3 separate regions of the Homo sapiens genome follow, and regions 1 and 2 are each linked to region 3. Evidence: promoter capture Hi-C in 16 types of primary human blood cells and fetal thymus (Javierre and others, 2016). All regions are on one chromosome and are shown on one strand. Each heading gives the region's core, a stretch centred on a gene start or on the middle of the fragment in contact. The rest is flanking DNA. Distances are from core to core; before and after follow the strand shown.

Region 1 (4,225 bases), core at 19-2,518, 380 kb before region 3:
CAGCAGCCGACTCTCCGCGCCCGCTGTGGGGCGGTGTGGGGCGGGAGGGGGCCCGAGCGTCCTGAGCCGTCTGGCAAAGGGGCCGCCGAAAGAGACGAAGCCCCCCCGCCATACTCCAAACCCGCAGCTCCGAGACTGACGCCCTCCCCCTGGGGCTGTTGTCTCCCACCCCAAGACGGTGATTACGGTGATTATTTTGCATTTATGTAACACGCAGTGTTTCCAAACTGCTTCCCGAGCAGAGAGCTGGTTATTAAATAAACAGAACGCTATTACATATTATTATTTTTTGTAAAGAACTGAGCGGAGAAAGTGCTTTCATGCTACATAGAGACGTGCATCTGACTGCTTCCCTGCAGGGCAGGCGGTTCGGCTTCTCAACCTCTTTCTCCGCCGTGCCACCTCCCACCCCCTTTACCCAAGCCGTGACCCAACTTTTCTGGCTCCTTTCACTCCCCACAATCCAGTCGTGCCCGCCATCCGGCTCCCAGCCCCGGGGAGGCATTGGATGGGGGTGGGGACAGCAGAGGTGAGCGCTCTTACCTGGGAGGAAGAATGCGGTCAAGCCGAGAGCGAGTCCCCACCAGCGTCCAGCGGCGCCCGCAAGCCCCATCCGAGCCATCGGGGGCCGGGGGTCCGGCGAGAGGGGCGGCGAGGGCAGCGCTCCTCGCGCAGCAGAAACCAGCCCGGAAGATGAGGGAAGATCGCTGGCGGTCGGCGGGCGCTCGAAGGATCCAGGTCAGCTGCAGCCGTCGGCCGGGGCGGGGTGGGCTGGGTGGGATCCGCGCGGCCGCAGTCCGGGCCCCGGGCCGCCGCCGGCTCAGAGGCTCGGCAGATGCCCGCCGCAAGTTGCACGAGTCATGCCCCTTCGCCTCCTCCGCTCTCCTCCCGGCGCCGGTCCCCGCCCTCTTCTTCCACGCAGAGCGGGGCTGGGGAGAGGGACCCACCCCCGGCGCGCCCGGCTGCCCGGTTGCGCGGCGCGGGCTCCTGGCCCCGGCCCGCTCACACCCTCCCGCTCGGCTCCAACTTGCAGGCGTCCATGGCCGGCCGTCCTCCGAGGGTGGCGGGACGCACCCGGGCGGCGCAGAAGGCTCGGGGCCCAGGCGGCGGGCGCGGGGCTCGGCGGTCGGCGGCCCGGGTGGCTCTGGCTGCGCGGCCGGGCGCGAGGAGAACGGGTCGGAGGCGCCGCGCGTCCCAGCCGCCGCCGCTCTGCCGGGTGCCGGCGATCCGCAACAATGTGGAGCCGCGCTCGCTGCTCTCGCTCTCTTTCTCTCACTCGCCGAGCTCCAGCCTCTCACCCGCTCGCCCGTGATGTCAGCCAGAGGGGAGGGGTTAGCGTTAACCCCCTCCTGGCCTCGATGCGCGCCCGCCGGGGCCCGGTCGGAGCCCGAGCGCACGCGCCTTCCCGACCGAAGCAGAGGCGGATCGCGAGCGCGGGCTGCGGGGTCCGGCTCAGGACCCTCGCTCGGGAGCTACCCCTCGGCCGCCTTCCAGCTGGGGAGCCGGCTGGAGCGCGGGCTGCCCTCCTCCTCCGCTGACAAAGGCAGGCAGTGACCCCTAGCGGCCGGCGGCGCCGAGGCGCGGCGGGTGGGGGTGGAGTTAGGACCGGGCCGGGGGCGGCGGTGGAGGAGAGGGCGGGATGGAGAATCCCGGCTAGCAGCGTGGGAGCTGGCAGGGCTTCTGCAAGCCCTCTGCTCCCACCCTGGCCCCATTTCACAGACGAGGAAACAAAGGCCCAAAGAAGAGTTCCGCCCGGGACGGAACGTGGCATAGCTCGCAACAGAACCCAGTCTCCGGAGATCCCTCTCCTCTGCACCACTTGGACGTTCCACGGAGAGGCAGCGGTGCGCGGGGCGACGGGGAGCTGCCAGAGAAGTCAGTGGTGGGCATGAGTGGGTGAGACGGGCCCACTGAGGTTTCTGGTAGAGTTTCTTTTCTAATCCCTGCTCCCTTCGGGGGTTCCTTTTCCAAAAATTGAAGCACCCCGCGCCCCGCCCTTGCCCAAACATAGCCTGAAAACGAGCTCTCCTCCAGTTTCCAGGACCTTAGTTTTGAGAGATTTGTGGGATTCCCGCGAAAGTGGATCGTCCAGTCAGTGTCCCTGGCAGGGCAGGGACTCTCCGCCCCATCCCGTTCACCACCCACTACATCCGGGTGTGGTAGGATTTCTGCCAAGGCGACTGCGCCCTCCGGGCCTTCCCTCTTCCCCTTACTCTGGTCCTCCTATCCCCATCCCCTCCCCCTGGGGGAGGAAGACAGACAGAGTTTCCCACTAAGGAGAGCCGAATTCTCCCCAGACCCTGGCCGGACACTGCTCCCTCTACCCTTTGCCCAGCCCTCTAGGCGGGCAGGAGCAGAGGGGAAGTGGCTGTTTCTGATAACACGTAAATTCTGGTTCCTCACTGGAGAAGGGGCAAAGACAGCGCCATATTCCCACTGTCTGGAATCCGGCCCTGGAGTGTCTCGGTTTCTCGCGGAAGTAGTCAGATCTGGCATTGTCATGAACACTCACCCACTCACTGTATGGTCTTTTACATTTAACAAATGTAACCTGGGCTTTCTTTGTGTCAAAACACAGTGCCTGGCTTGGGGATACAGAGACATCATCATTGTCCTGAAGGAACTCAATCTAGTTGAAGGGTGGGGGAAGACAGACATAGAAACGGATGTCGTAAACAAATATTTAATATGGGATTGTGTGGGTTTGGTGGGTCACAGAAAAAGTGCCCAGTTTAGCCCGGGGTGGGGTTGGTGTAAAGGCTTCAGGGAAGCGAACACAGGGTCTCGGTGAGTCATCTATCAGACCAAGGTAAGTGCTGGAGGGCAGAGACATAAAAGAGACTGGATTTAAGGTAGAGGGTCAGCACGAGCAAAGGAATGAAGGTAAGCAATAGTCAGGTGAGTAGGGGGCCCACAAAGGGTTGACTGGTTTAGCCTGAGCCTAAGACTTGAGGAAAGGAGAGGTCTGCAGATTCGTGAATCATGCCCGGTAGCTGCTAGGAGGGTTTTAAACTGGGGAACACGCTATCAGATTTAGTTTGTGGCAGCTGGGAATCTCCCATCTGGCTGCTGAGTGCTTTAAGGGCCAGGGTTGAATTGAATTCATTGTGATGGCCTTTAGCTCTGTGCCAGGCACACTGCAGGAGCTGAAGGCATGGTTTGAAGGGGCAATCCCAGATGTACCAATGTCTTCTTGTTCCCTGCTCTTACCCTCCCATCCTCTCCATCTTTATTTTATTTTATTTTATTTTATTTTATTTATTTTATTTTATTTTATTTTATTTTAATTTAATTTAATTTTATTTTATTTTATTTCATTGAGACAGAGTCTTGCTCTGTTGCCCAGGCTGGAGTGCAGTGGCGCCATCTCACCTCACTGCAACCTCTGTCTCCCAGGTTCAAGTGTTTCTCCTGTCTCAGCCTCCCGAGTAGCTGGAATTACAGGTGTGTGCCACCACGCCCGGCTAATTTTTGTATTTTTAGTAGAGACGGGGTTTCTCCATGTTGGCCAGGCTGGTCTGGAACTCCTGACCTCAGGTGACCTGCCCTCCTTGGTGTCCCAAAGTGCTGGGATTACAGGCATGAGCCACTGTACCCGGCTGCACTCTCTCCATCTTTAGGTCAGGCTTCTTTGATCCTCTGATCTTAAATGAGCTTCCAAAGAGGGTGCGGCCAGCAGGGAAGATGTGGCTGCCTGGGGATTGGTTGGGTGGAGAAGATGGAAGCAAGTAAGTGATATAGTATGGTTGTTCACTCATCATCTTTAAACAAGCAGGGAAGGTTGCTGGGGGAGGGGACATTTAACTGAGACCCTGAAGGACAGATCAGATTTGGACCAAAAGAGGCAGGAGAGAGACTCCTAAGTGGAAGGAACAGCTTGTACAAGAACATGGAGGTGCGTGGAGGTGGGAGAGGTGCCACCTGTGTTAGGACAGTAGGCATTCCAGTTTGTTTTGCGTTTTAGAGATGTATAAGAGAAAGGGACAGGTAGGCGCAAACAGAAGGCAAAAGGACCAGAAGGTTTCCTTTAGTGACAGGGAAGAAACACAGGATCAAGCAGCAGGAAAGCAGGCTTTGGTTCCTGCTCTTAAGCTGTGAGCCCAGGAGTCACTCTTGCTTCTTACCTCTTCCTGAACCACCATGTTCCAATTTTGTTGATTCTGCCCCTGAGATATATATATATATATATATCCTTTATATATATATATATAGTCTAGTGACATTG
Region 2 (3,678 bases), core at 733-3,232, 400 kb before region 3:
AGAGGAAGGAGCGTGGAGGAATAAGAAAGACTAAGACATTTTCTTTTACCTTAAAAGCTCTGTCTAGCAGGGGCCCCAGACATGAAAACAAATAATGACTGAGTGATAAACGCAGTTTTTGTTTGTTTCTGAAAAATACAAACCCAAAGCAATGGGAGCTCAGAAGGGGGAGTGATTCTGTCTGAAGGTGACGGAGGCGCCACAGAAGATGTGAGATTTTTTAGCTGGGTCCTGCAGGATAAGCAGGAGTCCTTGAGACAGACAGAGATAGAGACAGAGACAGAGACAGACAGAGAGAGGGAAGGGAACAGGAGGGGAAGAGGAAAAGAGGAAAGAGTGTCTTTAAAAGCTTGGATGTGGCGAAAGCACTGGATATGTGGGGCAGAGGAGAGGGGAATACAGGGTGAATGGAAAGCAAGGTAGGAGCCAGTTGTAAAAGGGCTTTGTATTAGATGAGGGTCTGAACTTCACCTTGTAGGCAACTGGGAGCCACTGACGCCTTTTAAGCAAAGTGGTGACATGGTCACATCTGTGCTTTGGAAAGAGGCACATGGAATGCTAAGTAGAAGATGTCAGTCACAAAAGGCCACATACTGTATGATTCCATTTATACGAAATGTCCAGGATAGGCAGATCCATAGACACAGAAAGTAGATGAGTGGTTGTCAGGGGCCGGGGGAGGGAAAATGGGGAGTGACTGCTAATGAATACCGAGGTTCTTTCCGAGGTGATGAAAATGCTGTGGATTAGGCAGTGGTGACGGCCTATTGTGAATATACTAAAGCCACTGACTCGTATACTTCAGGAGGGCGAATTTTGTGGTTTGCGAATTATATCTCAACAAAGACAAAAGAAGAAAAGAGGCACATGAAGAAGGATGGATGATGGCAGGGCTAGGCTGGAGACAAGCAGGCTACCAGAAGACCTCTGCAAGCCTGCAGCACCCCCAAGCGTGGGGGCCCTGGGGTCCCACGGCTCAGCGCAGCTGCTAAGAGCACCGGTCTTCTGAAGTCCAAGACTCAGCTTCCCTCCTCAGGACTGCCCAGGACTGATTCTGCCCAGGACTGATTTTGCTGGGGGAGGGGGCACCGGAGAGATCCTGAGACACTCTACCCCCCACGCCCGCCCACATAGCCAACATATCGCACATATCCTGCATGAGATGCCTGGGACCAGAGCGACAGACGGTCACCTGACAAGCCACACCACCTATTTTTGAAGACAGGCGGGTCCCTTGGTAATAGAACAGGCACGAAGAGGCTTTGCCATAGATGGGGAAATTAGGGCAGAAAATAACACCGTGAAAACAGAACTGTCTGTTCAGAAATAAGAGACCCCCTCACTCATATCCCCAGTGTACCAGGGCCTGTCTCAGCCCCTGAGAATCTGGGATCACCAGCTCCACATCCGGGCCCAGGGCGCCTCTGTCTGCCACGCACTTGCCTGGGCCACTCTGCTACCTGGGGCCGGGGGAGAGCCTGCAGGGGCAGGGGCGCAGAGGAAGCCGAGACTACCCTCTAAAGAGTCCTTTCTGTGGGGCCCTGAGCGTCTGTAACCAGGCTGTGAGGAAGCACTCACTTCCAGGGGTGGAGGTTCAGGGGTTGGGGAAGGGAAGGGCTAGCTCCCTAGTCTGTAAGGGCAGAAGGTGCTCTTGAATGGAAGCAGGGAGGGAGGGGAGCCCCGTGTGGGAAGCCTGAAAGGAGCCTGGGAAAGACTGGGGCTGGGGGCTGGGGGCTGGGAGAGGAGAGTGATGCTCGGGGACTCCCCAACTCTCAGGCAGGGAACAGCTTTATTTTAACTCCGGGTTTGTGGAGAGAGGGCAGGACGAGGCGGAGCGGGTTTGAGGGGGAGGACCTAGCTGGTTTTTCCCAGCATCCCCCAGGCCACTTCTCTCACCACAAACCTCAGTCTCAAGCCACTTGGTTGTCATGGAAACAGGCCGGAATAGAACAGATGGTCTCCACTAGCCAAATTCCAATTAAACAGGGCAGAGATGGATAGGGAAGGGAGTGTGATGTGACGAGGCCGCAGAGAGCTCAGCCCCCAGGATGGACGGGAAACCCTGGGTCACCGTTCTTGGAGGGGGACATCAGGTGGGTAGAGAAAGCTGCCTGGGGGAAGTCACCACCCAGTCACCCCTTCAGTCCTCAAAGGTGGGGGCGTGGTGCTGAGGGAATGTCAGCTTGGGGAGGGGCAGCCACAGCTTTCCATTTACAGAAGCGCTGAAACAGAGCCACATGCACGCACACACGCGCACCCAAGCACACATGTGCAGCTGAACGCTGCGGTATGCACACAGGTCGACATGCTCAGGAACACGCGGGAGCAGTGCGGGAAGGTCAGGCAGAGTCATTGCACAGACACATTCCTCTAACACCGTACAAAGAAAATGCTTTGGAAAACCAAGCAAGCAATTTATTCTCATTTATTTAATAAACAAGTATTAAGAACCTACCAAGTGCCTGCCAGTAGGGCTATAAACACACACACACACACAGCCCTGCATGCGTGTGTATGCATGTGAAGGATATCAAGGACACAGGATAAATTCACTGACATGATCACTGCTACGGTAGGACTGTTCACAAAGTGCCATGATGATACAGGAAGAAATGATGAATGTGGGGAGGAGAATTAGAGAAACAAGAGGTGTCCCACAGGAGGTAAAATTTCACTGGGCTTTGAAGGATGAGTAGGAGTTTGCCAGCTGGTGAAGTAGGGTCCTCCAGGCAGAGGAGACAGGAACAGCAAAGGCATGGTGGACTGAAAGGTCAGAGCTTATGGGATAAGCCCAGTGTGAGAGGAGTTTGAAGTGTAGAGGAGTTCATGGGAGAGAAGACCCCATACAAGTCCTGGTGTGGAGAGTATAATTTCTGACTCAAACACTAACACCCCACACAAAGAACCGTGCCATCACACAGCGCCCGCCTGTCAAACCACACATCCACGCACAACTTCACACACACATAACCGCAGACCTTCCTGGTGCTGATAAATATTGAGCAAATGGAAAAAAGATGATTTTGTTTACTGCAAACAAAATGAGATGGGAGGGGAGGTGTCAAGTAAAAGGAAAGCATCAGAAGTTTTCCTTTCTTGGCATGGGGGTTAAATAGGGTTGCCAAAAAAAAAAAAAAACCAAAAACAGAAAGAAAGGGGCACGGGAGGCTGGCTGGGCACGGTGGCTCATGCCTGTAATCCCAGCACTTTGGGAGGCCAAGGCAGGTGGATTACCTGAGGTCAGGAGTTCGAGACCAGCCTGACTAACATGGTGAAACCCTATCTCTATTAAAAATACAAAAATTAGCCAGGCGTGGTGGTGGGTGCCTGTAATCCCAGCTACTTGGGAGGCTGAGGCAGGAGAATCATTTGAACCCAGGAGGCAGAGATTGCAGTGAGCTGAGATCGTGCCACCGCACTCCAGCCTGGGCAACAGAGTGAGACTCTGTTTCAAAAAAAAAAAAAAGGCATGGAGAAGGAAACCTCACAGCTTATCAGGGTTGTGAAGCCAGCCAGCTCCCATCGGTTTACTGTACATTTATGGGACACCTACTGTGTGCAAGGTGCTGAGCTAGGGCCTGCAGAGATTTTAAGGCTGGGTCCTATCCTTCAAAGAGCTCAGGTGCTGGGTGAGGGGAGGAGAGAAAGTAAATACTAAACAACACAGAAGGGGAAGGG
Region 3 (4,266 bases), core at 56-2,555:
AGTCTGGCTTTCCTGCCAGATGCAGCCCAGAGGACCCATGACTGCATGGCCACCAGGGAAGGAGGGACCCAGACACCAGAGCCAGGTGGCCTCGAGGAGCTAAGCAGGCCCTCCCTGAAATGCCAGGGATTAGATTCTGCCATCACCACCAGCAACAAAAGCAGCAGTCAGGGAAGAAGTGCCTGAGGCAGGGAAAGGACCCTGTGTCCTGCTCTCCACCATGCATCAGGCACCTATTTATCAAGTGATGATGCACCAGGCACTGTGAAACACTTACTTGCCTCCTTTCATTTGATCCTCTTACAAACCCATACGGTCACTATGATTAGCCCTATTTGGCAGATGAGAAAACTGAGGGTAAGGAAGCGTAAGTAGCTTCTTCTATTGACCCAGCCAAGTCAGGTCAGGTACAGAGTGGCACATTGCCTCTCTCAGAGAGGCACAGACAGAGGATGATCTCTGGGACTGTATCATCCCCCAAGAGTGTTCCCTGCTTCCACACCCACCTCATGGCAGTTCCGCCCCCCTCAGCCCATGGCAGCTGTGCTGCAGTCTCCCTCTCTGGCATTAGTGCTCCTGCAACAGGGACCTACTCTCCAACTCCCCTCCTCCACTCACTGGCCCTTAGCTCTCAACTGTTTCCTAAACCCTGCATCCTCTGCACATCCTGCTTGTGTCTTTGCTTGCTCCTGCACCTGCAATGCCACCAGCGTCTCCACCTGCCACAGTCGGTCCCATCAATGATGTCTCAAGCCACCAGTATAGCGCACCTGGGCCTCCACTCTTGCTTCACCTCGGTTCATTCCTGAGTCCTCTTCTTAGAGCACTGATCTGATTACTCACCCTCCCATGGAGGTGGTCACTGTGTTTACGGTAAAGCTCAGCCCCTATGTAGCCCGGCATGATCCTGCCCTGCCTTTCTCACACATGCAGAACTCACTCAGGTCCCCCCAGATCTTCTCAACTCACTCTCAGCACAGCTGTCCCCTCCTCAGGGGACATGCCTCCTCATCACCGTTTTGGGCCCTGCACGCTCTGATCACCTTCTGGATCAGCTCACAGGCCCAGTCTTGTGAATTCATGCAGAGAGGCAGCTTGTGTCTCCTATATCTTGTGCTTAGATCTTGGTCCAACACAAAAATCTGAATGAATGCAGGCCTCCCCCGAGCCACGCCTCCATTCCTGCTCCTCATCAGGTATCTGTGCACCTCTCTCCCCCCTAGGCCTGTACAATGCCCCCAGTCTTGGGCTCAGGTCACCTAGTGCAGTCCCCACTCCAGGCAGGTCCACACCTGAACCATCAAAGACCCACACCTCACCCTCAAAGAATATGCCGCCTCCTTCTCAGACAAGCTCTCAGGGCTCCACCTTCCACAGCCAGATCTGAATCCTGCAAGTTACCAATCCGTAACAGGGTTTGCAGCCCCTCAATTCAGCCAGTTCAGGATCTTAACATGATAATGGGACCAACCTCAGAAAAATGCAGAATTTGCTAACCAGAGCCAACCTCAAGGCCAACGAGGAAACACGTTATATGTCCACTTGGGATGAATGTATTGATAACGATAAGCCCGGCCAAAGACCTCTCCTCCCTCCCTCACCTGGCTCCCTGTCCTTCCTGGGGAGCTTCAGGGATCCCAGGCACCATCCTCATCCGCTGGGTTGAGGTCACCCATCCACTGCCACATCTTGCAAGAGAGTCTGTTGGTTCCCAAGTTTCCTCACCCCCTCCCCACTCCTTTGCCTCTTCTTAGCCTCTGCCTTGGCAAGGTGATGAATTAGGAGCCAGGAGTTGGCACATTCACCAAGCAATTAGTGTTTATCTTCCTTGTTTCTGTGGCTGAACAACAGATCATTTTCAACCTTAATAGTCAATACTCAGAAAGATAAAACTGTCTGGGTCACTCTTGGGAGGTGATTTGAGGGTTTGGTGGGAAAGGGAGGTGGGATATGAGATGGCCCTGCCTCAGCCATCCAGCCCCCGCCCCTCTGGACAGGCATTCCTGGGGTCCCACCTGTTACCCTTCTGACCTCTCTCCATGGTCCATCAGGAGGCAGGGACAAAGGTCCCCATGTCGTAGCCGGGACACGGAAGGGGGACAAGAGTCAAGCAGCTTGGCAGTTCGCAGCCCCTCAGTGTCCCCTCCCCCTTGGACTTTGAGGACTCTGGCTTTCTGTCTCACTCTTCACCAAGAGCTGCCTTGGGTAGAGCCCTGTCCGACTCATGCAAGCCCTCTTTGGGGGCTGCAAAACTGAGCCTTCTGTGCCCACCCAGCCCCCTCCTCAGGCCAGCTACCTGCAGAGGGAACCCAAAGGTGGCACCCACATAAGGGAAGCCTGCCCCTTCTGCAGAATTCCATGCCAGGTTAGGCAAGGTCTGGTGGGGTGAGCAGTAAGCCCCTATCTGCTGCTCAGACCAGGGGACTGCTGTCCTGGGGTCATATATTCTACAGGCTAGGACAGAAGGGCCTACTCAGCTAATACAGAAGTGGGGGAAGGAGGAGAGAGAGAGAGGCTCACCTTGTAGAAGGGCCCTGGGACCCAGTCCTGACGGCCCGGGCTGGGGCAGGAGTTTGGCGCCCACTCACTGCAGTGAAATGCTGTCACCTGCTGGCCGTGCCTCAGAACTGCAGGAGCCCTGGTGCGGGTCCTAGGGCTGGGCCCAGCAGCTTCCACCCTGTGACTCTCCACCAAGTGCAGAAGGCCAAAAAGAGGGGAAATCAAGCTTCATCCCAGGTTGAAATGTCGTCATTGTCTTTGTTGTTAATTCCACAATAATAATAGTATAATCTCTCAACTGTTGGGCCCTTGCTAAACCAGGTTCTTTGCAGTTTTTTGTTGCTCACAGCAGTCCTTTAAGATGTTATCCCCACTGAAGCTCAGACAGAGTGGGCAGCTTGGCCCTGGTCTTACAGCTGATGGGCAGTGCAGCCAGGATTCTGGCCCTGACAGTGTGGCTCCAGCTCCACACAGTGCCCTCAGAAGCCTATGCCTCAGCTCTCCACACAATGAAATGTACCAGGCACCCATTATTGGATGCCTTCCAGCTCCCCTTTTGATTTTTTCACCTTCCTCTCCCACTTCCTCTTCCCAGTTAACTGCTTCTTAGCCTCCAAGGCCCGCCCACGTGCCAGGCACTGTTCTAGGACAACATGATGGAATAACCCCTGCTATCACGGAGTCCACATTCCAGCAGGTCCTGAGGCCCAGAGCAGAGCTCAGAAGCTCCTGCGTCTCCAGCCTTCCCCCGTCCTGGACAGAGAAGGCTTCTCAGATGGGGACCCATGCCCCTGACAGGGTCTAAAGGAAAGGAGAGGCACGGGGCTGGGTACAGGGAGCCTTGGAGATTTGGGAGTCCAACCTGCCTGCCTATCAGCCCAGGTCTGATGGTGGATTCCCAACCTGACACCAAGCTCAATGTTCCTGTCCCTTCCAACCCTCCTTTTGCTGTGGTCTCCACCTCACAGGCTGTTGGAGCTGGGAAAGAACCCCAGAAATGATCCAATGAATACACCTCATTTTGTAGATGGAGAAGGTCAGACCCAGAAAGGGCAAGCAATTAGCCCAGATCACACAGCCAAGCAACAGAGCCTGGATGAGACTCAGGGCTCCCAACTACCCTGCCAGAGCTCCCTGCTGAGCCCCTCTGCTGCCTCCCTCCTCGCTGGTCTGCCAGGGGGCTACCCACACCTCTGAGAATCACCCAACGCCCAGAGCTGGGAGAGGGCAGGAGACAAGGGAGCATGGGCCAGGACTGTCTGGGTCTGAGAGGAACAGAAGTGGATATAGAGCCTTGCCCCCCTCCTTCCTCCCTAATAGGAGGATTAAACCTCCTATTCTCACTCATGCTGGGGACAGAGGCATTCTCAAGAACTGGGAAGAAAGGATTTCCCTGATTGCTTTATAATCACAGCTCAGACGATAATGGACCTGGTGGGGATTGATGGGGAGAGTGTGATGCTCAGCGACGTCCCCGCCCAGTTCCCAGCACAGCCCTGGGCCTCCTGACACAGCGGTCTTCCCAACATCCCACCAGCCAGCCTCTGTGCAGCAGGTGCAGCCCCTGGTGCAGCCCAGGCATGGGACAGGCAAGGGCCTGGCTGCCCCCACAGGGGAATTTAGCCAGACCTGGTGTCCCATCCAGTTCCCCTTCTCTGGAGCTGGTAGGCTTAGGGCAGGGCCTGGAGAACTGGGAGCCTCTCGTGGCCAGGGTCTTTCTGAGAGTCCGGGCATCTCTGGAGCCCAGGAATGGGTCCTTATCACCAT

The links. The method cuts DNA at HindIII sites, captures the fragments that hold promoters and counts their contacts. A CHiCAGO score of 5 or more calls a contact.
Region 1: the fragment with the promoter of NECTIN1 here is called in contact with a fragment that was not itself captured in region 3 in 2 of 17 cell types (endothelial precursors and M0 macrophages); the score reaches 7.7 in endothelial precursors.
Region 2: a contact is called between the fragment with the promoter of NECTIN1-AS1 here and a fragment that was not itself captured in region 3, in 6 of 17 cell types (megakaryocytes, M0 macrophages, M1 macrophages and 3 more). The highest score is 10.5, in megakaryocytes.

What each region holds. Positions count from the first base shown.
Region 1 is chr11:119,727,932-119,732,156 of GRCh38, forward strand. NECTIN1 (nectin cell adhesion molecule 1) reads right to left here and starts at 1,269. Exons shown (of 6, transcript NM_002855.5): 1 at 544-1,269. The coding sequence starts at 622. NECTIN1-DT (NECTIN1 divergent transcript) reads left to right here and starts at 1,652. Exons shown (of 4, transcript NR_120587.1): 1 at 1,652-1,875. RefSeq lists enhancers at 593-1,454, 1,455-2,315 and silencers at 865-1,184, 1,245-1,654. The HindIII fragment of the contact is 12,809 bases long and covers 1-4,225 here.
Region 2 is chr11:119,707,938-119,711,615 of GRCh38, forward strand. It overlaps NECTIN1-AS1 (NECTIN1 antisense RNA 1), which reads left to right and starts at 1,983. Exons shown (of 3, transcript NR_183634.1): 1 at 1,983-2,093. All of the region lies in intron 1 of NECTIN1 (nectin cell adhesion molecule 1), which reads right to left. The HindIII fragment of the contact is 5,414 bases long and covers 348-3,678 here.
Region 3 is chr11:120,105,775-120,110,040 of GRCh38, forward strand. No RefSeq gene overlaps it. Among named protein-coding and RNA genes, the nearest start is that of TRIM29, 30 kb to the right of the region's middle. RefSeq lists an enhancer at 2,673-2,722. The HindIII fragment of the contact is 2,835 bases long and covers 1-2,723 here.